Linked DNA regions of Homo sapiens: all the other regions are linked to region 4. The links are contacts of gene promoters, found by promoter capture Hi-C in blood cells and fetal thymus (Javierre and others, 2016). All regions are on one chromosome and are shown on one strand. The core of a region is centred on a gene start or on the middle of the fragment in contact, and the rest is flanking DNA. Distances in the headings are between cores, read along the strand shown. Region 1 has its middle 5.5 kb from the start of MRFAP1. Region 2 overlaps MAN2B2 (mannosidase alpha class 2B member 2). Region 3 overlaps KIAA0232. Region 4 holds the start of BLOC1S4 (biogenesis of lysosomal organelles complex 1 subunit 4).

What was found. Contacts are between HindIII fragments. The CHiCAGO score rates a contact against its expected background, and 5 or more counts as called.
Region 1: a contact is called between a fragment that was not itself captured here and the fragment with the promoter of BLOC1S4 in region 4, in 11 of 17 cell types (naive CD8 T cells, non-activated CD4 T cells, fetal thymus and 8 more). The highest score is 13.7, in naive CD8 T cells.
Region 2: a fragment that was not itself captured here is called in contact with the fragment with the promoter of BLOC1S4 in region 4 in 1 of 17 cell types (neutrophils); the score reaches 5.6 in neutrophils.
Region 3: a fragment that was not itself captured here is called in contact with the fragment with the promoter of BLOC1S4 in region 4 in 1 of 17 cell types (erythroblasts); the score reaches 5.8 in erythroblasts.

What each region holds. Positions count from the first base shown.
Region 1 is chr4:6,642,767-6,649,672 of GRCh38, reverse strand. No RefSeq gene overlaps it. Among named protein-coding and RNA genes, the nearest start is that of MRFAP1, 5.5 kb to the right of the region's middle. The HindIII fragment of the contact is 1,624 bases long and covers 4,484-6,107 here.
Region 2 is chr4:6,615,400-6,622,240 of GRCh38, reverse strand. MAN2B2 (mannosidase alpha class 2B member 2) reads right to left here. Exons shown (of 19, transcript NM_015274.3): 17 at 4,749-4,861; 18 at 2,197-2,314; 19 at 1-1,053. The coding sequence ends at 956. Among named protein-coding and RNA genes, the nearest start is that of MRFAP1, 22 kb to the left of the region's middle. The HindIII fragment of the contact is 2,854 bases long and covers 2,804-5,657 here.
Region 3 is chr4:6,827,233-6,833,294 of GRCh38, reverse strand. All of the region lies in intron 3 of KIAA0232, which reads right to left. Among named protein-coding and RNA genes, the nearest start is that of KIAA0232, 48 kb to the right of the region's middle. The HindIII fragment of the contact is 1,598 bases long and covers 3,615-5,212 here.
Region 4 is chr4:6,712,319-6,718,629 of GRCh38, reverse strand. It overlaps BLOC1S4 (biogenesis of lysosomal organelles complex 1 subunit 4), which reads right to left and starts at 2,456. Exons shown (of 1, transcript NM_018366.3): 1 at 966-2,456. The coding sequence starts at 2,420. The coding sequence ends at 1,767. LOC105378240 (a long non-coding RNA gene) reads right to left here. Exons shown (of 3, transcript XR_001741568.3): 2 at 4,763-4,819; 3 at 4,485-4,606. RefSeq lists enhancers at 1,415-2,054, 2,537-2,736 and a silencer at 2,207-2,256. The HindIII fragment of the contact is 17,705 bases long and covers 1-6,311 here.

The DNA of each region.
Region 1 (6,906 bases), core at 4,046-6,545, 72 kb after region 4:
CGCTCGAACCTGGTTGGCGGAGGTTGCAGTGAGCCGAGATCGCGTCACTGCACGCTAGCCTGGGCGACAGTGCAAGACTCTGTCTCAATAAAAAGAAAAAATAAATAAAGTAATACACTAAAAAAATTAAGGGGTAGATTATGCAGAAAGTTCTAGAAAAGAGGTGGTAACTTCTGTGTCATTGGGTCATCGCCATGGAAAGCGGCTGTAACTTCTGGGGGTTGCCATGGCAATGGTAAACTGATGGCACTGGTGGGCGTGTCTCATGGAGAGGCTTCCAACTCTTCCTTGTTTCAGCTAGTCTCAGTCTGGTCTGGAGTCTAAACCCTGCCTCCAGAGTCGAGTCCCGCCCCCTACCTCATAACGACAATAGTGGTGGTGGTTTTAAAAATACGTCCACATGATAAAAAGGAATTTGAAAAGATTAAAAAAATATGTCCACAATCTTCTTGCTACTCATCTCTTCAGTAGGTGGAGCATAATTCTTCTCTCCTGGAGTATGGGCTGGCTTGCTTCTAACACACAGAATAGGGAGGAAAAGGGAGGAATGGGAAATACATGGTGCCTATGGCCTTTGGGGATCATCAAAGGTCTTGCTCTCTAGCAGAAACTATTTTGCCTCCTTCCCTCTAGGTCCCTGGCTTTTGCCTCAGGGAGACTTTATTATCTATTATCTTCTCAGGCCTTGTATGAAATGTGCCTCAGAGGTTGCCCCCTCCAGGGGCTTTGCAGTTTCTGAAGCCTTCTTCATGCTGGTGCAGGTGCTGGGGCTCAGCACTTCCTTCAGGGGCTGAACAACCCCAAGTTTTAGCAGACTCACCTTGGAATTTCTTTGGCCATATATTTCCTTCAAAACCTTCGGATGACTTTGGGAGACTGAGGCAGGAGGATTGCTTGAGCCCAGGAGTCTGAGACCAGCCTGGGCAACGTAGGGAAACCGTATCTCTCTAAAAAATAAAAATAAAAAAATTAGCCAGGTGAGGTGGTACATGCCTGTGGTCCCAGCTACTGGAGAGGCTGAGGCAGGAGGATCGCTTGAGCCTGGGTGGTTAAGGCTGCAGTGAGCTGTGATCAGACCACTGCACTCCAGCTTGGGCAAAGCAAGACCCCATGTCTCAAAAAAACAAAAGGAAAACAAGAAATAAAAACACAAACAAGGGGGCCGGGCGCGGTGGTTCATGCCTGTAATCCCAGCACTTTGGGAGGCCGAGGCAGGCGGATCACGAGGTCAGGAGATCAAGACCATCTTGGCTAACATGGTGAAACCCCTTCTCTACTAAAATTACAAAAAATTAGCCGGGCGTGGTGGCGGCTGCCTGTAGTCCCAGCTACTCGGGAGGCTGAGGCAGGAGAACGGTGTGAACCCGGGAGGCAGAGCTTGCAGTGAGCCGAGATCATGCCACTGCACTCCAGCCTGGGCGACAATGCGAGACTCCATCTCAAAAAAAAAAAACAAACAAAAAAAACACCACAAACAAGACCCGCTCAGATGCTTCCTGCCTGTTTGCTGTCAGCCAGCCCCAATGTGCAGGCAGCCACAGCCCAAATCTTGTGAAGATGCCGGCATTTTCCTCACTGCGCTCTGTCCTTCCCCTGCTTTCCCAGTGGTGTCCCTGTGGAGCCAGTGTCCTTGACAGGAAGGTGACAGTCATCAGCTGGTGTTTGCCCACGTGACTGGCACTCACTTTCTGAGGAAGGACCTTTACTGAAGATGCTTGAGAAAGGTTTGGGGCCTCAGTCTCATTTCCCTGTAAGATGGCTTCTTTTGGAGCCATCTCCCGTAACTCTTTGGGTTTGGGATGCAGAACCCCTTTCCTGTGAGGCCCCAAATGACCAGCAGTGGTGCCTCTCCAAGCTCATTCATAGAAGCTACTGCAGGAAGCACAGTTGAGTGACAGTCTCCAACTGCCACATCTTTGCCTCCATAGCGATCACACCAAGGCCATGCCTGTCCTCCCTCAAAGAGACTAAATTCAGGACTAAACTTACTAGCCTGTCACTGCTGTTTCTCCCATTGATGAACCAAGGAGAACTCAGCCTAGGACAAGTTTCCAGTGATGTTCTCCACTCCTCTTCACCCCCAAACCTGTTCCTGGGCCTCCAGCATGTGCCTGACTTCTTGGAGGAGCTCTGCCCTCCCCCGACCTTACCCCTGAGAATAGTGCTATTTCATCCTCAGGCCTGTGAGGGAAAAGCCACTCATTTCTATATGTCCCTCGTGTGTCAATCAGAATTTGGGGGCAGTGTTCTCCCAGGCCATGTCCACACTCTACTTCTCCTCCCTCTTGTCCAAAATGGTGCTCCTTGGGAGCACTCCCTGGTCATCTGACTGTCCTCTCCCTCTTCTCACCTCTGTCATCCTCCAATCTCTTTTCACCCCATTGGAGTCCCGTCATTCACTGCAAACTTGGGCACCTGGCTCCTGGCCTTCCCCTCCACCCCAAGCCCTGCCATCGTCCTGAGCGAATTCCATGCTCACACAGCCACCAGCCCCACACCTGGGCCCTCATATCCAAGGAGCTCCTCCACCCTGCTTGGCCATTCACTCCCAAGAGTGACTTGGGGCTTGTTATTGTCTCAGACCTGGCCTACTTAATATCTCTGTGCCTCATTGATAAGACGAGACTAATTTTAATAATGGCATCTGCCCCACTGAGGGGTCGTGAAAGGCTTTTGAGGAATTGTAGGTAACTGGCACATAGTAAATGCTTCACAGGTGTTAAAACAAGAATTGATCTGAGGCCCCAGAAGCACGTAGCTCGCAGGATGTCATCCACAGATACATTTTATTTGACAATCAGAGTTTTTAATATGATAAATTGCTTTCCAATATCAGCCCTCCTATTTTCTGGCCACATCCCATCCTCCAGGTGACACTTTCACTGTAGTCACTAACATGCTGGGATCTCCATTCACTTTACCAGCTACTTTCGCCTATTGCTCTCCTGCTCTTCACCTCCATACTTCCCCACTCAGAGTACATCATGTATTGTTGCAGTGATGTCCTTGTCAAAACCCTAAGCTCTTTTTTTCTTTTTTCACTCCTCTCTGGCAAAAATGCAGTCCTGATGAACGCAGTATCTGCCCCAGGCAGTGGGCAAGTGCTGTAAGGAACCATCACCAACAAGGCTACAGGGAAGCCCAGGGCTTGGGGAAAATCTAGTTTCAGCTGTTAAGAGTTGGTAAAGAAATGTTCTTTGAAGAGGCAAAGAATAATATGGATTAATTTGGGAATAATGGAATGCAGGATTTTGTGAACCATGGTATAGAGTTTGAAGGAGGAAGCAATGGGGATATAAACCAGTAAATAGGTACCACAGAACATTATGGAAATCAGAGACGGGGAAAAGAGAATTGACTCAGAGAGGGTCTAACATATGCTGGGCTGTGTATTAGTCTGTTCTCATGCTGCTATGAAGAAATACCCGAGACTGATAATTTATAAAGGAAAGAGGTTTAATTGACTCCCAGTTCCACATGGCTGGGGAGGCCTCAGGAAACTTACAATCATGGCAGAAGGGGAAGCAAACCTGTCCTTCTTCGTATGGCGGCAGGAAGGAGAAGTGCAGAGCAAAGGGGAAAAAGCCCCTTGTAAAACCATCAGATCTCGTGGAAACTCACTATCACAAGAACAGTATGGGGGTAACCACCCCATGATTCAGTGACCTCCCACCGGGTCACTCCCAGGACAAGATGAGATTTGGGTGGGGACACAGCCAAACCATATCAGGCAGTGACTGAAGCAGGCACTGGATGGATTTTGTAGATTTACCTGGCCACAGTGTTAACCAGGGTAATAAATCCCCATTTATCTCTGGAAGATGGTAGAAACTCAAGCCACTCCATGTTTACCTGCTGCCTGGAAGGGGGAGAATGGCCAGGAGTAGGAGTTTGAACTAGCGCTTTCTTTCACCTTGAAGTCATTAGAAGGCAGAGGAAAGTCAAGAGCTCCACGTGAAAGCCAGAGACAGAAGATAACCTGTTGGACAATGCCTGGGCTAGTGGGAGGGATGTGATCAACGGGCCTCAGGTAGAAGGGAGAACAACCCTTTCATCAAAACACAAGGAATGGAAGAAATAATGAATATCTGTATCAGTCATCTTAGTCTAAGTTGTTATTGTAACAAACAATCCCCAAATCTCAGTGGCTTAAAACAACTAAGGTTTTTCCTTGTTTGTGGTATATACTCATCATAGATTGGTAGGGAACTGTGGTCATTAAGCTCAGCCACCATCTGGAATGTTGCTGGTTCCTGTGCCAGAGGGAAGAGACAGCTCTGCAGGGTGTTGCTTTGGAGGTTCTGGGTTGGATGCAACAGATGTAAGTTTCCTTTGTAGCTCATCGGCCAGAATTAATCACGTGGGCCCACCCAACCCCAAGGGGGCCAGAAAGTGCCATCTTACTCTGTGCCTAGAAGGCAGAGAATTGGAATTTATTTGGTGAACAGCACTAATGACTTCTACATTTTAACCCAGAAAAGCTTCATTGCTCTCTGAGGTTATTTCCAGCTCTGCCATCCTGTAATACCAGGACTTTGGGAGGCCAAGGCAGGTGGATCACTTGAGGCCAGGAATTCAAGACCAGCCTGGCCAACATAGTGAAACCCTGTCTCTACTAAAAATGCCAAAATTAGCAGGGCATGGTGGCACCCACATGTAACCCCAGCTACGCGGGAGGCTGAGGCAGGAGAATTGCTTGAGCCCTGGGAGGCAGAAGTTGCAGTGAGCCAAGATCATGCCACTACACTCCAGCCTGGGCAACAGAGTTAGACCCTGTCTCAATAAATAAATAAACAAATAAATAAATATGGCAACTCCAGCCAGAAAATTTAATGACTGTACAGCCACGTAAGACTGTCTCTCAGAATGCTTCTTACCACATTCTTTGCTTAGAAAATGCAAGATTGGATTGCTCCTCCAATTGCTAGCAAGCCAGGAGTATGAAATTCAGGAGCTGGGGCAATTGGGAATTAGTGGCTGCATTGCAGTTGTGACCAGAATCATAAAAAAGAGGAACTAAGGAGTTACTGGAAAGATTTTAGGACAATAGTTTTCAAACTCTGGCATAAGAATGAACACTATGCAGCCTTAAAAAAAAAAAGAATGCAGATTTAGATGTTAGATAGGAAAAGACTTCCAAGTAAACAAATGAAGGACACGAACAGATTATACAGTGTGCTACCATTAATGTAAAAAACAAAACAAAACAAACAGGTGGCCTGGGCGCAGTGGCTCATGCCTGTATTGCTAGCACTTTGGGAGGCCAAGGTGGGTGGATGGCTTGAGCTCAGGAATTTGAGACCAAAATGGCCAAGATGGCAAACAACTGTCTACAAAAAATACAAAAATTAACCGCGGTGGTGTTCCAGTTACTCAGGAGGCTAAGGTGATCACTTGAGCCCAAGAGTTCAAGACCAGCCTGGACAAATAGCGAAACCCCACCTCCACAAAAAAAAAAAAAAAAAAATACAAAAATTAGCCAGAAATGGTGGTGTATGCCTGGTCCCAGCTACCAGGGAGGCTGAGGTGGGAGGATCACCTGACACCAGGAAGTCAAGGCTGCAGTGAGTGGTCACAACACTGCATTCCAGCCTGTGAGACACAGAGACCCTGTCTCACCAAAAACAAAAAAAAGTGGAAGCCGTTCAAACACATTAGTATTTGTAAGGATGTATAAGAAACTTCTAGTTTCCTGAGAGGGGAACTGGGAAGCTGGGGAGAGATGAAGGATCACTTTCGTGTCATTTATAAATCTTACTCATTGAAAACAATCGACTTCCCGATGCAATGTAGTATCCCAGAACAGAAAAAGGGCCTTAGTGGGGAAACTGGTGAAAGCAGAGAAAAGTCTAGTTGGTAGTGTTGTACCAATGTTACATTTCTTGTTTTGGCAAATGTACGAAATGTAGTTTTCGTGGTTGTTTCCCAGTTCATAATTCTGTCCTATACATTTCTTCTCCCTCCTCTGTGTGGAACTCACACAGAAAACCTTGAACATCTTCCATTGTTTCCTGTGCCTAGCATGCCTCTCCTGCTCTTCCTGACCTCGGAAGCTGTGCTCCTCTTTCAAGGCCAAGCTCTGAAAGAGTTACTTGCTCTGGAAAGCTTTCCTAGACCTCCCCCTCAAGTGTTCTCCTGGGACATTCTATCTTTATTAGTGCTAGGGACACATGGCTTTGTTTGATTTCTACCAACTAGGTTGCCCAGAAAGTGGACTCCAAGATGAAAACTAGATGCACGTTTTTTAGGGATTAACACTTGTGGAAGAGGAGGAATGCAAGGCTGGGACGGGGGAGGAGGTGGGCTGCGTGATGTAATCCTAACAAAAGCCTCAGCAGACCCCACAAGCTCAGAAGCCACCATGTCCCTCAAAGTTGTCCCAAATTGGGGTAAGAGAAATAGCGACCTGAGATTTCCAGCCCATTACTCACTAGATGTAGGCTACCCAGGGAAAAGGGCATGACTTTGGCTAACGCAGCTCTCCTCTGAAAAGGCACTGCCCAGAGGGCTAACCAGCTGAAGGGTGTTTGTCAGCAACACTTCTAGCAGCTGAGGCAGAAAGGCTTCAATCTGGAAGGAGGGTGGGGTATCACATCTCCTCTATGTCATCCCTCACCCTGCAACTGTAATCGCTATATTCCCAGTGCAAGGCCTAGAAAACAATGTTCCAATTGGAAAGACTGAAGGTGCTTTGGCTCTCTGAAGGCAGAGGCCTGGACCACAGGATTACATGTGGTTTCTTCCCACACTAAGAACCAAGTGTGTTTCTTCCTCACCCGGTTCCCAACAGCAGAGAGAGAAAGCTTCCCTTTGATTAGAGACTAAGAGCCTCAGAAACCGTTAAGATGTTCACCCTCCATTTGACAGTGAGAACCATCTGGGAGACAGCAGATTTCATTCTTAAAG
Region 2 (6,841 bases), core at 2,981-5,480, 98 kb after region 4:
TCTGATACACAGATTTGCCTATTCTGGACATTTCACATAAACTCGTGATTGGCTTCTTTCACTTAGCGTAATATTTGTAGGATTCACTCAGGCTGTGGCATGCGTCAGAATTTCCTTCCTTTTTATGGCCAAATAATATTCCATTGTATGGACAGAACACACTTCATGTCTTAATTCATCTGTGGATGGACATTTGGGTTGTTGCTACCGTTTGACTTTTGAGTAATGCTGCTATGAACGCGGGAGCACAGGTATTGTGTGGATGGATGTTTTCAATTCTCTTGGGCATAGACCTGGGAAGGTTATACTTTTATTGATATTAATAGTTCTGATATTGGACATCCCTGCTGTGTGGTTTCACCTCTCATGGACTCTGACGGCTGCTGTGCCTTCTCTGCTCGGCAGGCGGTGCCCTGAGGCACAGGTGGGCGTCTGGGGCTGGAACTCTCGCTAGGCGCTACAACTTCCTCTCCTGCCCTGTGGCAGAGCCAAGCCCCTTGCAGGGCTGTTGCCAGCATGGGATGAGTCTATGAAAACACGTGGCACGCAGTAGGTCCACAGTTACCACTGGCAGCCTGGCAAGCCTGGCAGGGCCCGGACGGCAGATGCGCTTCGGTGCTGCTGTGAGTCTTGTGCTCTGCCTTAGGCAGAAAGTCCTGGGTTTGTGTTTTGTGAATGAATGACGCATGAGTGTGCCAAATATCCTTTACGTGACAGAAGAGGAGAGGGCTGGCTTGATTGAGTGTGGGGGGGAAGAACCTGGATCTTGTAATGTAATTTTTGTTTAAAAAAATTAGGGAAAAACCCCAAATATGACCATTTCCTGCCATTAGCCTGCAGATGAGCAGCTGACTCCCCAGTCCCATCCCTCCGCACTGCTTTTCCCTGTCCTGGGTCTGTTCTGTTACATGGAGTTCCTGGGGGAAGCCCTGGGGCCGGGGCATCTGCCCAGGGCTCACTGCTGTTGAAAGTGAATAAAGAACGTCCGGATTTCCTTTGGGTGGACGGTGATGATGGGGCCTCCTGGTGGCCTCGAGGGAGAGGTGGTGTCACCTAGGGGAACAGAGGTGATCTGTCCAGTGTGGCCTGGGATGCCTCCTCCCAGCCTCCCTCTCACCCCCTGCACCTGTCTACAGTCTGCTGTGGCTCCCAGCCTCCCTCTCACCCTCCTGCACCTGTCTACAATCTGCTGTGGCTCCCAGCCTCCTTCTCACCACACTGCACCTGGCTACAGTCTGCTGTGGCTCCCACCGTGGCAACGGCCTATGGCATCCCCTTCTGCCAGGACTCCTGTGGGCCTCTTGGCGTTTCTGCCCACCCTGAGGGCAATTCATAGGTTGGTCCTGGCCCTAGTGGCCTCAATTCCTCATGGGTGTTGCCCTCAAAGCCCAAGAGCTTTCTGAGACCATCTGGTGAGTCTGCCCTTGCCTCACCAGGCTCCCCTGAAGGCATGCCCTGGGGTTGGGCTTCGATCTTGGGAGGGAGCCGTCCACTTATCTATCACTCATCCATCTTCCTTCCTTCTTTCCAACCAACATCATCTTCCCTCCCTCCCTCCCTCCGTCCCTTCCTTCCTCCCACCACCAACTGAGCGTGCACCATGCACCCGCCACCATGCTGTGTGTAGTGGACAACGAGCTGCACAGGACAGAAGAAACCCCTGGGGCCAGGAGAGTGGAGGAGGCACTTGGCCTGGTTGGTGACTCTGGGGAGGCATCCTGGGGAGCTTGAGCAGGTGCTGGCCAGAGTGAATGGGACCTGTGCGTCCCAGGCAGAGGGCATGGTGCGGACAGGGAGTGGAGCCTGGAAGCTGCCTGTAGTGCAGGAGCTCACGGTGGCACATGTCGTATGAGGCAGGGACCGGCTGATGGGCTGAGGTCAGCAGGGCCAAGGTGGGCAGAAGCCCCTGGGCCCCTAGCTGTCACCCAGGGCACAGGCAGGGCGTGTGGTCTGCGTGTGCACACGTACAAGTGCACACACACGCCTGTGTGGAGCCCTGGCAGGCAGAGACTAACCCAAAGCCTTTCTTAACCGACTGTAGTAGATTTGGGAGGGCTGCGGGTTCAGAGTAGGAAAGCAGCCTCGCAAGGTCGCACAGGCCGGGACAGGCAGATGGTTGGATGTGCACCGGGTCTGACCAGCTGCTGAGCCTGGCTGGGAGTCCTGGGTAGGGAGCTGAAGCGGGGGTCCCCAAACCTCTGTGGCGGCCAGGCCCCGTCCTCCAGCTCCAGCGGTGCAGCATGCTCAAATCCCAGGTCCCTGTGAGCGAGCGCTCCTCCACTGCCACCACGGACCCCAGCGCCTGCAGCACAGCCTGCAGGGAGAGGAGCAGAGGGAGAGTGAGCTGCACCAAGTTCCAGAGCTGAGCAGAGAACCAAGACAGCAGCAGGGCAGACACACCACGAACTCGGTGTCCTCAGGAGCCCAGGTCCTCCCCTGGTGCCTGACACAGCTCCCTCATCTGCTTCTCACAGCACATCTGCGAGGACAGGACTGGCCGTGTACTTTACAGATGAGGACACTGAAGCGGGAGGTGCATGCTTTACCAGGTGGCCGAGCTGGAGGAGCAGCCCGGGAGGTGTGGCATTTTGAGCTGCCCACCCCACCGCGGAGTTCTCCTCTCCCCACATTGCTCAGGTGGCCCCGTGCCCAGTCCAGGGAGGAAGCCAGCCACAGTTACCCCATCCCCCTTTCCCAATAGGCCTTGTCCCAGCCTCCCTTACACCTAGGGGAGGCAGGAGGCCCTTAGGGGTCTGGAAAAGTCTGTGGAGCAGGAGGGCTGGGGGTGGCTCTTGGAGAAGCTTCTGTGTGCTGACGGAGGGAGAGAGCCACGCTAGGGCAAGGCCTTTCTGGCCACTACTGCTGAGCCCTACCCTGCCTTGAAATTTGCTCATGAGGGAGGCCTGTGCCATCTTGTGACCGCAAACAAGCAGACGGCAAAAGACAAAAGCCAGTCTGCCGGCGATGGCGGGAAGATGACAGTGATCGGGCCCACGGTGACAGCGCTTGGGGTCCATCGGACATGCCTGTTCGGTGAGAAAACACTCTGTCCTCTGTTCTAAGCACATCTGTTAGGTGTTTTGTGACTTGCAGCCAAACTCACTGCGTTCCTAACTCAATGGTCTTTCCACCCCACCACCGTCCACGTTGGGCAGGGAGTCATGGTGTCCATCCCAACCGTCTCCTTGTCTCAGGGCCTTGGTGCTTCCATCTGTGAAACGGGGGAGCATCAGATGACCAACTTCCAGGTCCCACGCTGGCCTCCTTGCTTCCCAGGGCAGGCTGGCCCTGTGCTGGGCACTGGTACCCGCCATGGCCTAGACCTGCTCTCAGGCAGGCCAGGGACCGTGAGGAAAGGATCCTCCGTGGCGAGGATCATGAAAGAGGAGGTGGGTGGCCCAGTAAGACATCATGGCGAAAAGGTACTGGGGCTTCTCTGGATTCCCCTGAAGACTCAGATGTCGAAGGAGGCCCAAGGCAGAAACACAGAGATTCACAGAAATTCTCCATGAGCAGGAAATGAAATAGAAAGAATGCAAACTGGGAAAGAAATGAGGCGGCTCAGGTCATGCCTTCTGGGGAGGGAGCGTGGGCAGGCCAGGTGGCGGAAGCCTCGCCTGATAGTAGAGCTGAGAGGGCAACATCAGCCAAGAGGGGAACCTGGAAGGGGACGAGGCCTGGGGGCCCTGACACTGCACGAGGCCCCTTAGTGCCAGGGCCTCTCAGCAACCTTCTGGGCAAAGAACTCTCACCTCTCCCCATTTTACATGGGGGGAAACTGAGGCCCAGAGGCATGGGGTGCCGGAGATGCCCCCGTAGAGGGGCCTGGGTGTGGACCCTGGATTGTCTGACTCTAAGTCACCTTTCAAAGCAACTCTATGGGGAATCTGTTTTGTTTTTGGATTACACAGATGTTGTCTGTGTTTTAAAAGTTTTACCACAGAATAAATAAGAAAGAAAATACAGGCCACTCACGCCTGTAATCCCAGCACTTCAGGAGGCTAAGACAGGCAGATTGCTTGAGGCCAGACGTTCGAGACCAGCCTGAGCAACACAGCAAGACCGTGTCTCTACTAAAAATAAAAAAACTAGGCCAGGCTTGGTGGCTCACGCCTGTAATCCCAGCACTTTGCGAGGCCGAGGCAGGTGGATCACCTGAAGTCAGGGGTTCGTGACCAGCCTGACCAACATGGAGAAACCCTGTCTCTACTAAAAGTACAAAAAAATTAGCCGGGCGTGGTGGCACATGCCTGTAATCCCAGCTACTCGGGAGGCTGAGGCAGGAGAATCACTTGAACCTGGGAGATGGAGGTTGCAGCCAGCTGAGAGCGCACCATTGCACTCCAGCCTGGGGGACGAGAGCGAAACTCGGTCTCAAAAAAAAAAAAAAAAACTTAGCCATCGTGGTGGCGCGCCCCTGTGATCCCAGTTACTTGGGAGGTTGAGGTGGGAGGATCACTTGAGCCAGGGAGGCAGAGGTTGCAGTGAGCTGAGATTGTGCCACTGCACCCCAGACTGGGCAACAGAGTGAGATCCTGTCTCACATATACACAAAAAACCCTAAAAAACCAGGCCAGTTGTAATACCTGACAAACCCAGAAGACCATGAAGAAGGGCGGGGTGGGGCCCATACCAGCGTCCATTTGGGAGGAAGCCCTCGTGGATCTCTTTGCCAAGGCAGTTTCTTGGGGCTTCATCTAGGGTTTGCTTCCCTGGCTTATGGTCTGGATGGGGGTGGGGAAGTTCACCTCCAGATTCACTGTCACTGGCTGAGACAGGACTGGGTCCTCGCCCACTTCATATAGGTGGTAGAGCCGCAGCAGGACACGGCGGAGGTCAGCCTGGGCTTCCCCTCGATGGCCTTTGGGGACAGAAGGAAGGTGGCAGTGAAGACCCTCATCAACCAACCCCAATGTCCCTGGTCTATACCCGCTGCTTTACACACTCAGCTCCATTTCCTATCTGTAACCTCCTCGATATGGTTTGGCTGTGTCCCCAACCAAATCTCATCGTGAATTGTAGCTCCCATAATGTCCACATGTTGTGGGAGGGACCTGGTGGGAGGTAATTGAATCATGGGGGTGAGTCTTTCCTGTGCTGTTCTTGTGATAGTGAATAAGTCTCATGAGACCTGATGATTTTGTAAAGGGCAGTTCCCCTGCACACGCTCTCTTGCCTGCCACCATGTAAGACGTGACTTTGCTCCTCATTTGCCTTCTGCCATGATTGTGAGGCCTCCCTATCCAGGTGGAACTGTGAGTCCATTAAACCTTTTTTCTTCATAAACTACCCAGTCTCGGGTATGTCTTTATGAGCAGCATGAGAACAGACTAATAGACTCCATGTGAGACAGCTGACATGGCCCCCACTCGACAAGGAAACCAAGGCTCAGAGAGGGGCAGTCACGTGCCCAAGGCATACAGCTGGTGCGCGGCAGAGGGAGGATTCCCACCCAGGTCTGGCCGACTGTAAGGCTGCCCACCATGACACCAGCTGCAATGTTTCCATCCTCGTCCACTGTTGTGGGCATATTGGGGCATGTCCTCAAATACTCCAGTCTCTCCTACCCTGCCCCCTTTGAAGTCAGGGGAGGCTGCGTGGCCTCTGTGGCCAATGCAAAGTGAGCTGAAGTGACGCAGTACTTCCCGGCAGAAGCTTTTTCTTGCCATGGTGAGTGAGGAAGCACGTGCTGCAATACAAACTCCATCAGCGGGGGGCGTGGTGGCCACAGCAAGAAAAACCTTCCTGCTAACCCCACTGGATGCACAGCATGGGGGAGAAATGAATATATACTGTTAAGACCGTGGGCATTCGGGGCTCTTTGTTACTGCAGCATACGCCAGCCACCCTGACTGATATAATGCTGTCATTTGCCACATGATGTATGTGATCTCCTGTCCCATCCCTGATCTTCCCACTCAGAAAGGCTCATTGCCATTGCTCCCGTTTTACAGATGGGAAGACCGAGGCTCAGAGGAAAGCACTGAGTTCAAGGTCCTGGAGAGAGGACCTGGTTAACACAGGTGCTTCCTAAACCCTGGCTGGTAGAACCTCAGCTCTGCAGCTATGCCTCAAAGCTGACTAAATCAATCTGTCTGGGATTAGAATTGAGGCATCAGTATTAAAAAAAAAATTTTGGCAGGGTGTGGTGGCTCACACCTGTAATCGCAGCACTTTGGGAGGCCAAGGAGGGCGGATTGCCTGCTGTCAGGAGTTTGAGACCAGCCTGGTCAGCACAGTGAAACCCTGTCTCTATTAAAAATACAAAAATTAGCTGGGCATGGTGGTGGGCACCTGTAATCCCAGCTACTCGGGAGGCTGAGGTAGGAGAATTGCTTGAACCTGGGTGGTGGAGGTTGCAGTGAGCCAAGATCACACCACTGCACTCCAGCCTGGGCAACAGATTGAGACTCTGTCTCAAAGAAAAAAAAAATTTTTTTAGAGACAGGGTCTTGCTCTGTTGCCCAGGCTGGAGTGCTGTAGCATGATTACAGCTCACTGCAGCCTTGAACTCCTGGCCTCAAGTGATCCTTTCACCTCAGCCTCCTGAGTAGCTGGGACCACAGGCAAGCATCACCACACCCGCCTAATTTTTTAATTTTTTTTTGTAGAGACAGAGTCTAGCTATGTTGCCCAGGCTGGTCTCGAACTCCTGGCCTGAAGTGATCCTGCTACCTCGGCCTCCCAAAGTGCTGGCATTACAGATGTGAGCCACCTTGCCTGGCCCATTTTTAAGAAGCTATCATGGGGCTATGGGGTAGCTGGTTTTCAGAATGGCACAGGGGAATGACTGCCCAAGATCACAAAAGCCAAGAGGTTTGTGAAAGTGCTTCTACATCTC
Region 3 (6,062 bases), core at 3,164-5,663, 110 kb before region 4:
AGGAAGTGTTGTTTAAATGCAAATAACAATGCTTGTGATGTAGAAGGTTATTTAATTAAAGTCTGTTGAATGTTTGTTGAAATACAGTGTATGCAGTGACACACACGAGGAGCGCTTTATGGTCAGACTTTTACAGTTCCTATTGTTAAAGATTCTAATAAACTGTAACAGGAAACACCGCAGATGCTAGCTTTTCAAGAAGCGTAATGCTGAACGGGACACGCTACAGGAGTATGTTACAAATAGGCTGAAGGAGCAAATAAGGTCTGTTGAATGAAGAAGGGATGAGTCTCACCTAGCACTCAGGACTGGGATTATTATTTATACAACCTGTGGGCAAATACAGATAATGTAATAATCCAGTTACATTTCTAGAAGGATGGACTCTGAGCTAGTAGATACAATTTGATTAGGGGATTTAAAACAAGCAACAGTAACTTCTCTGCAGGGCAGGCCCCAGTGTGTGATTATGGGGTCTACACCCACTCCTAGCATGCTTCCCTCCTACACACAAGTCACAGACCTGAGAAAGAAACATGTGGCTATCCATTTGTCTAATACGTATCTGAGCCTCTTGTATATTCCAGGAACTGTTTTAAGGGCTGGGAATCCAACAGAAAACATAGCAGAAAAGGTCCCCAACTCTGGCTGGGCGTGGTGGTTCACTTCTGTAATCCCAGCACTTTGGGAGGCCAAGGCAGGCAGATCACTTGAGGTCAGGAGCTCGAGACCAGCCTGGCCCACATGGTGAAACCCCATCTCTACTAAAAATACAAAAATTAGCCAGGTGTGGTGGTGGGCGCCTGTAATGCCAGCTACTCGGGTGGCTGAGGCAGGAGAATCGCTTGAACCTGGGAGGTGGAGGTTGCAGTGAGCCGAGATCACGCCACTACACTCCAGCCTAGGCAACACAGCAAGAGTCCCTCTCCAAAAAAAAAAAAAAAGGCCCCAACTTCATGAATTACATATGCCAGTAGGGGAGACATAATTAAATCACAAGTAATCATATAATTTCAGGTAATAAAAAATGTCATGAAGAAAAATAAATTAGGTAAGAGGGCTGAGAATGGGAGGCTTCTATTTTAAATACAGTGGGTCAGGGAAAGACTGAGGATAAGACAAAATATATATCAAAACCAAACTATGCCATTAAACAAATAAATACTCTCTTTTAAAAAGTAATTGGTGGCAGCACAACTCTCTTGCCTAGATTAACTAGAAAAGCCAATAACGACACAAAGACAAACCAAACCTACATCACCTTCTGCAGGGCATCAGAGCCCTGCTGAGGTGCCAGGCATTGAGAAGACAGTGAGTGCCAAGGGAAAGGTAGGTGTGGGCATAGGGCACTGACATCTGCAGCTGCTTCCTTCCTGGGGAAATATGCTGACCTAGGTCCGGGACAAGAGGCTGAGAAAAAGGTGGCCCTTTGAAGAGGCAAAGAAAGCAGCAGAACTTGGAGTGAACTCTTAGGGCCAGAGGGAGAACACCTGAGATACAGATGCCAAGGTCCAAGCAAGAGGAAGGGGTTGGAAGCAGAGGGCACTCTGCTGGCCTCCCCTCTGAGCATGTGAGGAACTCTAAAGCTGTGTGGGACACGAGGGGGGCTTCTGGGTTGCCAGTAATCTTCCATTTCTGTGTGTGGCTATAGTTACAGGGATATGATCTTTGTGAAAATTCATCAAGTTGTACATTTTTCTGTATGCATTTTATGCCTCAATAAAAAGTTTAGGGAAAAAAACCTCTTATTCTTGTACAGAATCCATGGTTGTTCTCTATATGGAACAGTTAGTAAAGTTCTGGGAGTCCTAAGATCTAAAAAAAGAAATCTAACCATCCAACACCACCTAAAGCCATCACTCAGATGGAGGGGCCATCACGAAAGGATACTTTTGGAGGTGGTCTGCAAAGAAAAAACTTCTAGAAAAAGACAACAAAATCGGCCAGGTGTGGTGGCTCACGCCTGTAATCCCAGCGCTTTGGGAGGCCGAGGCGGGCGGATCACGAGGTCAAGACTTCGAGACCAGCCTGACCAACATAGTGAAACCCTGTCTCCACTAAAAATACAAAAATTAGCTGGGCGTGGTGGCGCGCACCTGTAATCCCAGCTACTTGGGAGGCTGGGGCAGGAGAATCGCTTGAACCTGGGAGGTGGAGGTTGCAGTGAGCCGAGGTCGCACCACTGCATTCCAGCCTGGGCGACAGGGCGAGACTCCGTCTCAAAAAAATAATAAATAAATAAATTTTAAAAAATAAAAAATAAAAAAAAAGAGAAAGAAAGCACTACTTTGTACAAAGGTAGTTAGACAGGACTTTTTTGGGGTGGTTCAGCACCCTACTTACTCATTCCATATTTCCCTTGGAGAATCATCCTCTCCAATTCTTAGTCCTTGTGGTTCCAGGTGCTTGTACCCTAGCCACCCAAGTCTTGTCACTGCAGTGATCAGGTCAGGAACAGTTCCATAGCAAAGATGACCTATTAGGATGAGAAGCCTGCTCTTTCTGCTGGACACACATACACAAAAAAGGGTGTAAGTCTGAGCTTACAGCGGGCAGGGTAGGGGTGAAGCTTGAGAATAAAGAAAACAGGCCGGGCATGGCAGCTCACACCTATAATCCCAGCACTTTGGGAGGCCAAGGTGGGTGGATCACTTGAGGCCAGGAGTTCGAGACCAGCCTGGCCAACATGGTGAAACCCTGTGTCTACTAAAAATATAAAAATTACCCAGGCATGGTAATGCACGCCTGTAATCTAGCTACTCAGGAGCCTAAGGCAGGAGAATCACTTGAACCCAGGAGGCAGAGGCTGCAGTGAGCTGAGATCGCCCCTGCACTCTAGCCTGGGCAACACAGTGAGTGCTCCATCTCAAAAAAAAAAAAAAAAAAAAAAAGACAACAGAGAAGGCAAGCTAAAAGACGGGGCACTGATTTTACTGTAGGCCCTGGATCAAGTTGCCACTGGGGTCAGCCCTAATTCCCAGATATTTCAAGTTTTTTAAACCAGTAAATGCTCCAAAATTTACTAGCTGTGTGGCCTTGGGCAAGCTATTTAACCACTGTCACTATCTCCACTTATGAAATACAAATAATAACAGGATGGTGTAAGGAAGATTAAATGAGTTACCGTGAATGGAAAATGAGTGCCTTCAACAGTGGCTGGCACACAGCACATGATACATATGTGTTTGCTTTTACTATTACTTCTGTTTAAGCCAGATTGAGCTGGGTTTTCTGTTATCATCACAGACTCCTAATAAGAATAATAAACAAAGAATGCATTATGCTGAGAACATCAATGTATAACAAGAAAAGTTTTAATAAACTCTCAATGGTAGTTTAATTAGCTATAAAGGAAACGAAAGCATATTTGGGGTTATAAGAACAATACTGAAACACACCCTCATCTGCTAGTGCATCCCTTCCCACCTGTGACAGATCATGGGGAGACCTACTGTCAACTATCAGTCTAGCACAACTTCTGGGCAGGAAAAGTTAACTCCCATTTTAAGTTATAATGTTACTGAAGTTCTCCTTTTAGTCATTTTTTGAGTAAGACTGTAAAATGTTTTAAACTAATGTAACAAATGTGTTGTAAGATGTACAGGATCTAAGCTTAATGTTCCAGGTCACCAGTCAATGCACACTGCCATGCCATTCACTTTCAGGCTGTGGGAGCTTAATACTTACTTTCGAGGTTTGGCTTGCAGACTGAATAAGGCAATCCTTACATATTAAGTGGCTGGTGCTGCATCTTACATGCTGTGATGTTCCTTATGTGACCAGGCTACTGATTTTTAAAAGATGGAAGGCACTGTAGTAAAATGTCAACTACTAAATGTAGAGGGGATCACTGAGTTAGGAAAATCACCACTTTTCAACCACCCAACTAATAACTGATTCAGGCAAGGAACATCAATGGATGGTAAAAGTATCAAAGTCTCCCTGCACAGATCGCTTATTCATTACAAGGAGAAACCTGGCAGACACCATCTGAACCATGATAAACCAAGTCAGCGTCTCCAAGAATGATAAAGACTGTCGTCACTGGCCCTCTAATGTGATATGCAGAAAAAAAGAAAACATCATTATGCAATGCTACTACCATAAATGCACAAGCCAACTCTAAAGATACGAGGAAATATCCGAAAAACCCAAATTAAGGGATGTTTTGCAAAACTGGCCTGGACTCTCCAAAAGTGTCCATGTCATGAGATGCCAGGGAAAAACAAGGAATTATTACAGATGAAAGGAGATTAAGGAGATGTGGCCATTAAAGTCGATGCATAATCTCAAACTAGATACTAGATGAGGGAGAAAACTGCAATGAGAAACAATATCGGGACAGGTGACAAAAACTGAATATTGACTGTATATCTGACAATAAAGTTTCATCAATGCTAATTTTCCTGAATTTTGTAATTGTAATATGACTAAGGGAAAGTCTTTGATCTTAAAAAGTACATGCTAGTTTACTCAGAGAGGTCAGCATGAAGAGAAGACAGAAATAAAGCAAAAGTAGAAGATGAAGAAAAGTGGGCTAAAGGGTACAAACATACACGTAAACAACGAGTCACTTCGAGTATTCAACAGTATGGTAGGGAGACTACAGCTAATAATATTTATTGTATATTTCAAAATAGCGAGAAAAGAATTGGACTATTTCCAACACAAAGAAAAGATAAATGTTTAAGGAGACAGGTAACTCAAATACCCTGATTTGATAACATCTTATATTCATGTATCAAAAATCATAATACCCACAAATATGTACAACTATTATATATCAATAAAAGAAAGCAAATGTGTGAAAATACTAACAATTGATGACTGAAGAAAACATGAGAGCTCCCTGTACTATCCTAGCTGTTAGTGAGGTCTGAAATTATTTCATTTTAAAAAGTTAAATTTATTTATTTTTTAAGAGACAGGGTCTCGCTGTGTTTCCAAGGCTGGAGTGCAGCGTCATGATCGCTGCTCACTGCAGCCTCCACCCCCCAGGCTCAAGCGATCCTCCTACCTCAGCTTCCCAAGTTGCTGGGACTACAGGTAAACCCCACTGCATCCAGATAATTTTTTTTAAGAGATGGAGTCTCACTATGTTGCCCAGGCTGGTTAAACTTTTTTAAAAAAGATTAATATATGATTTCTGCCCATAAGGATGTTATAACCTACTGAGAAACAGAATACATTCCAGTAACGATAATGAAAAGCTTTACAGTAAAATATTACCAAGTTTGGTAGAAGACATTGCTTTCATCAGAAATTATCAGAAAAAGTTTCAGAGACAGAGGTGACCTACGCTTTGAAAGATGGGTGAGAAAAGCAGTTTATATAAAATAAAAGTGATATGTAGTGATTTCCTGATTATCTTAGAATATACTTCCCAGACAGAGTAATCATGACCAAAAAAAAAAGAAAGAAGAAACATTTATGGAAATAAAACTACTGGCACAGTGACCGTATCTCCATATTACAAGGCAGTGGTTCTCTGGAACTACATTGTAACCAGCCCACCACCACAAATGTGTTTATAACCCTGCCCAAATTAGAGGTTTATAGATGATTCAGCCTTAAACAAGACTAGGATCTGATCAGCTTTACTTCCTTATCCTGCACAACTGAGACCAAACTGATGCATAAAATCTGTTTTAGAACTCAAGAGCACTGCGTGTTTGCTTTAGCCTAAAACAGAAAAGTGATGGGTCTTCAAACTGGCCGCTCATGGCTAGACTAACTCAAGGACTAAGGGGTGAGCGAAGATGTGAGGAAATGAACACCCAGGAGTACAGTGGTTTGGCCTCCACTCGAGGGGCTGCGTTATCACAGGCATGAGCCAGAGATCAGGAAAGGTGGCACACATCTTCACCCAGGTCTGTCAGCCTTGCTGTTAGCTGGAGTTCTGATGACAGAAGCTAAGGCCCCTTCCACTCTCCTTACTCTTGCTAGAAGAGAACCATCCTTGTCTTCCGCATCCTCTCTGCCTGGGGAAACCGTAAGTACATCCTCCCTTTGAGTCAGGCATCTGGCTTTTGCCACCTTTAACAAGGGACTGTAACTTCACG
Region 4 (6,311 bases), core at 1,207-3,706:
TTTAGCAATGTTTTGTTATGTAAGGATATTTTCATATTCAGTGACTATGTCATCGAAACACATGAATTACTTATAGGGGTACCAGCAGTTGCTGAATATTAAATGTAGGTTACTTGTTCTTTCAGCTTCTACATTCAGAGTTCCTTAATTTGTCGTCAATGAACCACCTGAATAAAAAACGTAAATATGTGACAATGAAGGTCCACGAAAGCTAGGTGCAAGATTACATGATCAGATTCTTCACAACACACAGCTAAATGAAAATACAGCTACTCTATGAACCTCAAAGATCTTTGATGACACTGCAAATGACACAAAAGCAACCTAAGCTGTATGCTTTTTTAGCATCTACTATTTAGGAGGGCCACCTTATAAAATAGATTTGAATCTCAATAAAAGTCTACTGTATCCGCAGGAAAATCCTAATACCATTCACTCACACAAATAATTTAACTATCCATTTCGAGAGGAAAGAAATATACCATGCTCTGGACGGGCGCGGTGGCTCACGCCTGTAATCTCAGCACTTTGGGAGGCCGAGGCAGGTGGATCACGAGGTCAGGGGATCGAGACCATCCTGGCTAACACAGTGAAAACCCGTCTCTACTAAAAAAAAATACAAAATACAAAAAAAATTAGCCGGGCATGGTGGCAGGCGCCTGTAGTCCCAGCTACTCAGGAGGCTGAGGCAGGAGAATGGCGTGAACGCGGGAGGCGGAGCTTGCAGTGGGCCGAGATTGCGCCACTGCACTCCAGCCTGGGCGACAGAGCATGACTCCGTCTCAAAAAAAAAAAAAAAAAAAAAAAAGAAAAGAAATATACCATGCTCTGAAATAGAAGCTACAGCTTTTCACATTAGCTCTCTAAAGGAGGTATACTCAAGCCCCTTTTCTTTATCCCACTACTAAAAAAGCACATGAGCAGTACGTCTATTTCAAACACACACAAGGAAATACGTAAAGCTCTTTTCAGAAGGAAATCATTTCCAATAAAACTCAAAATTTCTATTAACATTTAAATTATAAACCAAACATTGGCAACCCACATATATATATACACACACACACACATATGTTTGCTATGGACAAATGAAGACTGTGAGGTCATACTTTCAAATACAACTTTGGAATTAGTCACAAAAAATCAACATATATTCTCAGAAATTGTACCATTTCCTTTGGTCTACAATCCACGCTATAGGAGGTTTAATATAATATTAAATAATGTACCATTTACCCTAAAAGTAGGTTCTAGAAAACTGACTATTAGGATTGAATAACAAGGCTTTAATGGCTCAATTTTCTTATGATTATACAAACATATAAATCTTGAAAAGGTAACGCCATTTAGTAAAATCCATAAAAATAACAGTTTTGCCACAGTGCAGAGAAAAGTTCATTCAGTTTGATTCCCCATGCCCTCGACAAGCAGCTTTCTGATTAGAGCTGGAAGACACAGGCTGGGTGCAGTGGCGACCCCGTAGTCCCAGCTACTGGGGAGGCTGAGGTGGAAGGATCACTTGAGCCCAGGAGTTTCCGAACAGTCTGGGCAACATACCAAGACCCTGTCTCTTTTTTTAAACTTGGAAGACATAAAGTCTATACATTCTACACTGAATCATGAATATACTACGGAGAGTTTGTAGAAAGTAAACTTTAAAATCCCACACTCCAACATCATATATGTCCATAAGCAGGATTTGCAATTCACTTCATACTGGAGGTAAGCACCCCAGCTGGGGTCCTCTTGCCGCAGTGGTCAGGCCGTCAGAGCTGAGGCCTTTCACTGCAACAAGGGAAGTAGTCTTCGGTCCGAAACAGGACGGGGGCTTCGTAGCCGGCTTGCTGTGGCCTCGAGGGAGCAGACTTGCTAAAGAGCGAGGGCACGTTCATCGTGTGCAGGAGCTTCTTGAACGCCCTGGGGAAGGTGCCCAGCTCGGCCTCGGCCTTGGTGACCTGCTCCTCCATCCTGGCCACGCGGCCCCCCACCATCCTCACGAAGGCCTCCAGCCGGTCGATCCTGCTGTAGATGCGCCGCATCTCGGCGGCCTTCGCGTGGATGCGCGGCACGCCCTCGCTGACGACGTGGGACGAGTCGCCGCGAAGCATGTCCAGCATGCCCACGAACTCGTCCACTCTGGTAAGCAGGTCCTCTAGGCTCGCGTCCAGGGCCTCGACCTCGGGCCGCGCCCCGGCCCCGGGCAGCAGGCAGGCGGCGTAGCCCGCAGCGGCGCGGCGAAGCAGCGGCAGGTCGCGGCCCGGCGCGCCGTCCTCCGCGCCCTCGTCCTCCCACGGCCCCGAGGCGCTGCTGTGGCTCTGGGAAACAGTGCCACTGTCCCCGCTCCAGGCGGCGCCCTGCGGCTCGGCCTCTTCCGCGAGCCCCTCCGGCAGCGCTCCGCCATCCGAAAAGCTACCCTCCATGGCCCGCGACCACCCGACTGCGCAGCGCTCGCTTCCGGCCTCCGCGCGCTCACGCTCACGCACCCGCACACGCACGCACGCGCGCTCACGCCTTTGCTTCCGGCGGCCTGCGAGGGCGTCTGTTCACGCGCATCCACCTTTGTTTCCGGCCTCCCAGCGCGCTCACGCTCACGCATGCGCGCTCACGCTCACGCATGCGCGCTGCTGTTTTCTCACGCCCGAACTCACATTCAACCTTTTTTTTCTTTTTTAAGCGAAGGTATAGCAGGAATACAATACAGTGCATACATTTTAAGTGTGCACATTGATGACTTTGTACACATCCATACAACCATGCATCTTCTATCCAGACCAACAGGTAGGACATGTCCAGCACCCATGAACGTCTCCCTCCTGTCCTTCATTTCTTTTTGCTGTTTATAGTAAAATAAATGAGATAAGCAAGACGAAACACAAAAGGGATGGACCTTGACGACTTTGGATGATTTTTAAAGTCCTCAGCTTCGCCTGATTGCAAATGGCGTAAAACTAAGAAATAGTAATAGTTTCCAAGCAAATATCAAATCCAGGGTACTGCCAGAAAAAAACAAAGGTGAAGTTGAGATGTGACGGTTAAATCCTTTAAAATCTCAAAAAAAAAAGCAAAGACGGTGCCTGAGAATACCATTCAGTTAGACTAACAGCTCCTTAAAGAGATTAATGGTGTGGCTCACAGAGTCCATCAGTCAAACCACAAGGCCTCCAGAAGGCTTAAGGCTTGTTCGTCAGTATTAGCAGAAGCCCAAGATAGAGATGGACTTATCTCAAAGGGATTTGTAGGTAGCACTTTTGTTTAACGGAGTGAACCCCGATGAGATTCACAGGAGACCTATAAAGTTTTTTAAAGATAATTATATTGACACAAACATTGCAGATTGGACTGAAAGGAACAGGCCTTTGGATCCCCTCTCCCCAAACTTGTACAAGCAGGAATCAGACTGAGAAAAAGACTCATTGGCAAACACATGCCACATTTCACAAAAAAGGAAGTATAACTCAGGGCATGAAACCAGGAGCCCAGATGGTGGAACTGGGAGTCATGGAGTCCTAGACCTTGAGACTGGATGGCAGAGTTACTGTGGGCTGGCAACTTGTTTGTACTTCCAATTTCCCCCTTTTTGAACAGGAGTGGCAGTGGCTAATCTAGTCGTAGTGGAGCAGAACAGGTCTGTAGTGATTATCCTGTGCCAGCCCCACAACTGTATATTCCAGGCATGGGGGCAGAGAACTTGTCTCCTTAGTTTCAAAAGTCTACAGATCAAGAAGAATTGTACTCTAGGAGCTGAATTTAAGGAACTAAGCTCAGAAAGCCTCATCTACATCTGATCTTATTGAGAAGACAAAATTCTGGACTTAAAGCTGATGTGACAATAGGATAGTAATACCTAAAACTACATGAGATTTAAAAAAATGTAACTTTTGGGGACCTTGGATAGAGGGGAGTGTGGTTAGCACGTTAAAATGGCATGAAGAATTGGTAGTCAGGGGGCAAACTGTGATTGCTAGCCAGCCTTCAAGATGACTCCCAGTGATTTCTTACTCCTGGTATTCTCACTCTTGTGTATTCCCTCTTGTCGAGTATGTACTGGACTTAGTGACTTCATTTGCTCATAATAAACTGAAAAACACAGAAGTGATGATGTATGATTTGGACATTAGTTCATGAAAGGTAGTGTGGCATCTCTTTCCTTCCAACCTGCGAAAGGAAGATAAATCTTGGGGTCCTACAATTACTAAGCTAAAAGAAAAGTCAAGTTGGAAACTGCTTAGGGCAAACCTGCCTCACATTCTATTCACAGTCACTTCTCCGCTCACTGAGATAAATGCGTATCTGATTGCCACCTTTGGAGAGGCTAATCAGAGACTCAAAATGTCTGGGCGCGGTGGCTTACGCCTGTAATCCCAGCACTTTGGGAGGCTGAGGTGGGTGGATCATTTGAGATCACGAGTACAAGACCAGCCTGGCCAACATGGTGAAACCCTCTTTTAAAAATACAAAAATTAGCCGGTTGTGGTCGTACACACCTGTAATCCCAGCTACTTGGGAGACTGAGGCAGAAGAATTGCTTGGACCTGGGAGGCGCAGGTTGCAGTGAGCCGAGATCACGCCACTGCTCTCCAGCCTGGGCGACAGGGTGAGACTCCATCTCAAAATAAATAAATAAATAAATAAATAAAATTTTAAAAGAAAGAAAGAAAAAAAGAAACTCAATAGAATGCAACCATTTTTCTCTCATCTACCCAAGACCTGGAAGCCCCCTCCCCGCTTCAAGTTGTCCTGCCTTTGCTTTGAGTTGTCTCACCTTTCCGGACCAATCCATCGTTCATCTTAGATATGTTGATCGATGTCTCATGTCTCCCTAAAATGTATAAAACCAAGCTGTGCTCTGACCACCTTGGACACATGTCATCAGGACCTCCTGAGGCTGTGTCACGGGCACACATCCTCAACCTCGGCAAAATAAACTTTCTAAATGAACTGAGACCTGTCTCAGATATTGGGGGTTCACAAACCACTTGCTCTGGGGAAACCAGCTGCCTTGTTGTGAGCAGCTCCATGGAGAAGCCCATATAGCAAAGAACTGAGACCAACAGCTAGGGAAAAACAGCCTCTTTCCAACAACTACATGAGTAAGTCATCCTGGAAGGGGATGCTCCATCCTCATTCAAACTCAGAAATGACTGCAGCCCCAGCTGATAGGTTGACTGCAACCTCATGTAAGATACTAAACTGAAATGACATAAGATAATGCTATGGTCTGAATATTTGTGTCCTCACATCCAAATTCATATATTTAAATTCTACCCCAGAAGGTGATTGATAGGGTTTGGATGTCCTGCCCAAATCTCATGTTGAAATGTAATCTCCAGTGTTGGAGCTGGAGCCTGGTGGGAGGTGACTGGGTCATGGGGACAGATTTCTCATGAATGGTTTAGCGCCATCCCGTTTGTGCTGTTCCTGTGATGAGTGAGTTCTCGTGAGATCTAGTCATTTAAAGTGTGTGGCACCTCCTGTCACCTCTTGCTCCTGCTTTGGTCATGTGACATGCCTGCTCTCCTTTTGCTTTCCGCCATGATTGTAAGTTTCCTGAGGCCTCCCCACAAACCAAGCAGATGCCAGCACCCTGCTTCCTGTAGAGCCTGCAGAACCCTTAGCCAATTAAGCCTTTTTTCTTCACAAATTACCCGGTCTCAGATATTCCTTTATAGCAATGTGAGAACAGCCTAACACAGTGATGATATCAGGAGATGGGGCCTTTGGGAAGTGATCTGGTCATGGGGTCAGAGCCCTCATGAATGTGACTAGTACCCTTATAAAGGATATAAGGCCAGCTGCAGTGGCTCATGCCTGTAATCCCAACACTTTGGGAGGAAGAGGCAGGAGAATTGTTTGAGGCTAAGAGTTTGAGACCAGCCTGGGCAACATAGCAAGACCCCCGTCTCTAAAAAAAATTTTTTTTAAAGCTGGGTGTGGTGCCATGTGCCTGTAGCCCCAGCTACTCAGGAGGTGGAGGCTGGAGGATCACTTGAGCTCAGGAGTTTGAAACAGTGAGCTATGCTCATTCCACTGCACTTTAGCCTGTGCAAAAGAGCAAGACTTTGTCTACAAGTAAATACACAAAAGATGTATAAGAGGGCCGGGCACGGTGGCTCATGCCTGTAATCCCAGCACTTTGGGAGGCTGTGGCGGGTAGATCACCTGAGGTCAGGAGTTCAAGACCAGCTTGGCCAACATAGTGAAACCCCATCTCTACTAATAATACAAAAATTAGCCAGGCGTGATGACAGGCACCTGTAATCCCAGCTACTCAGGAGGCTGAGGCAGGAGAATCGCTTGAACCCGGGAGGCAG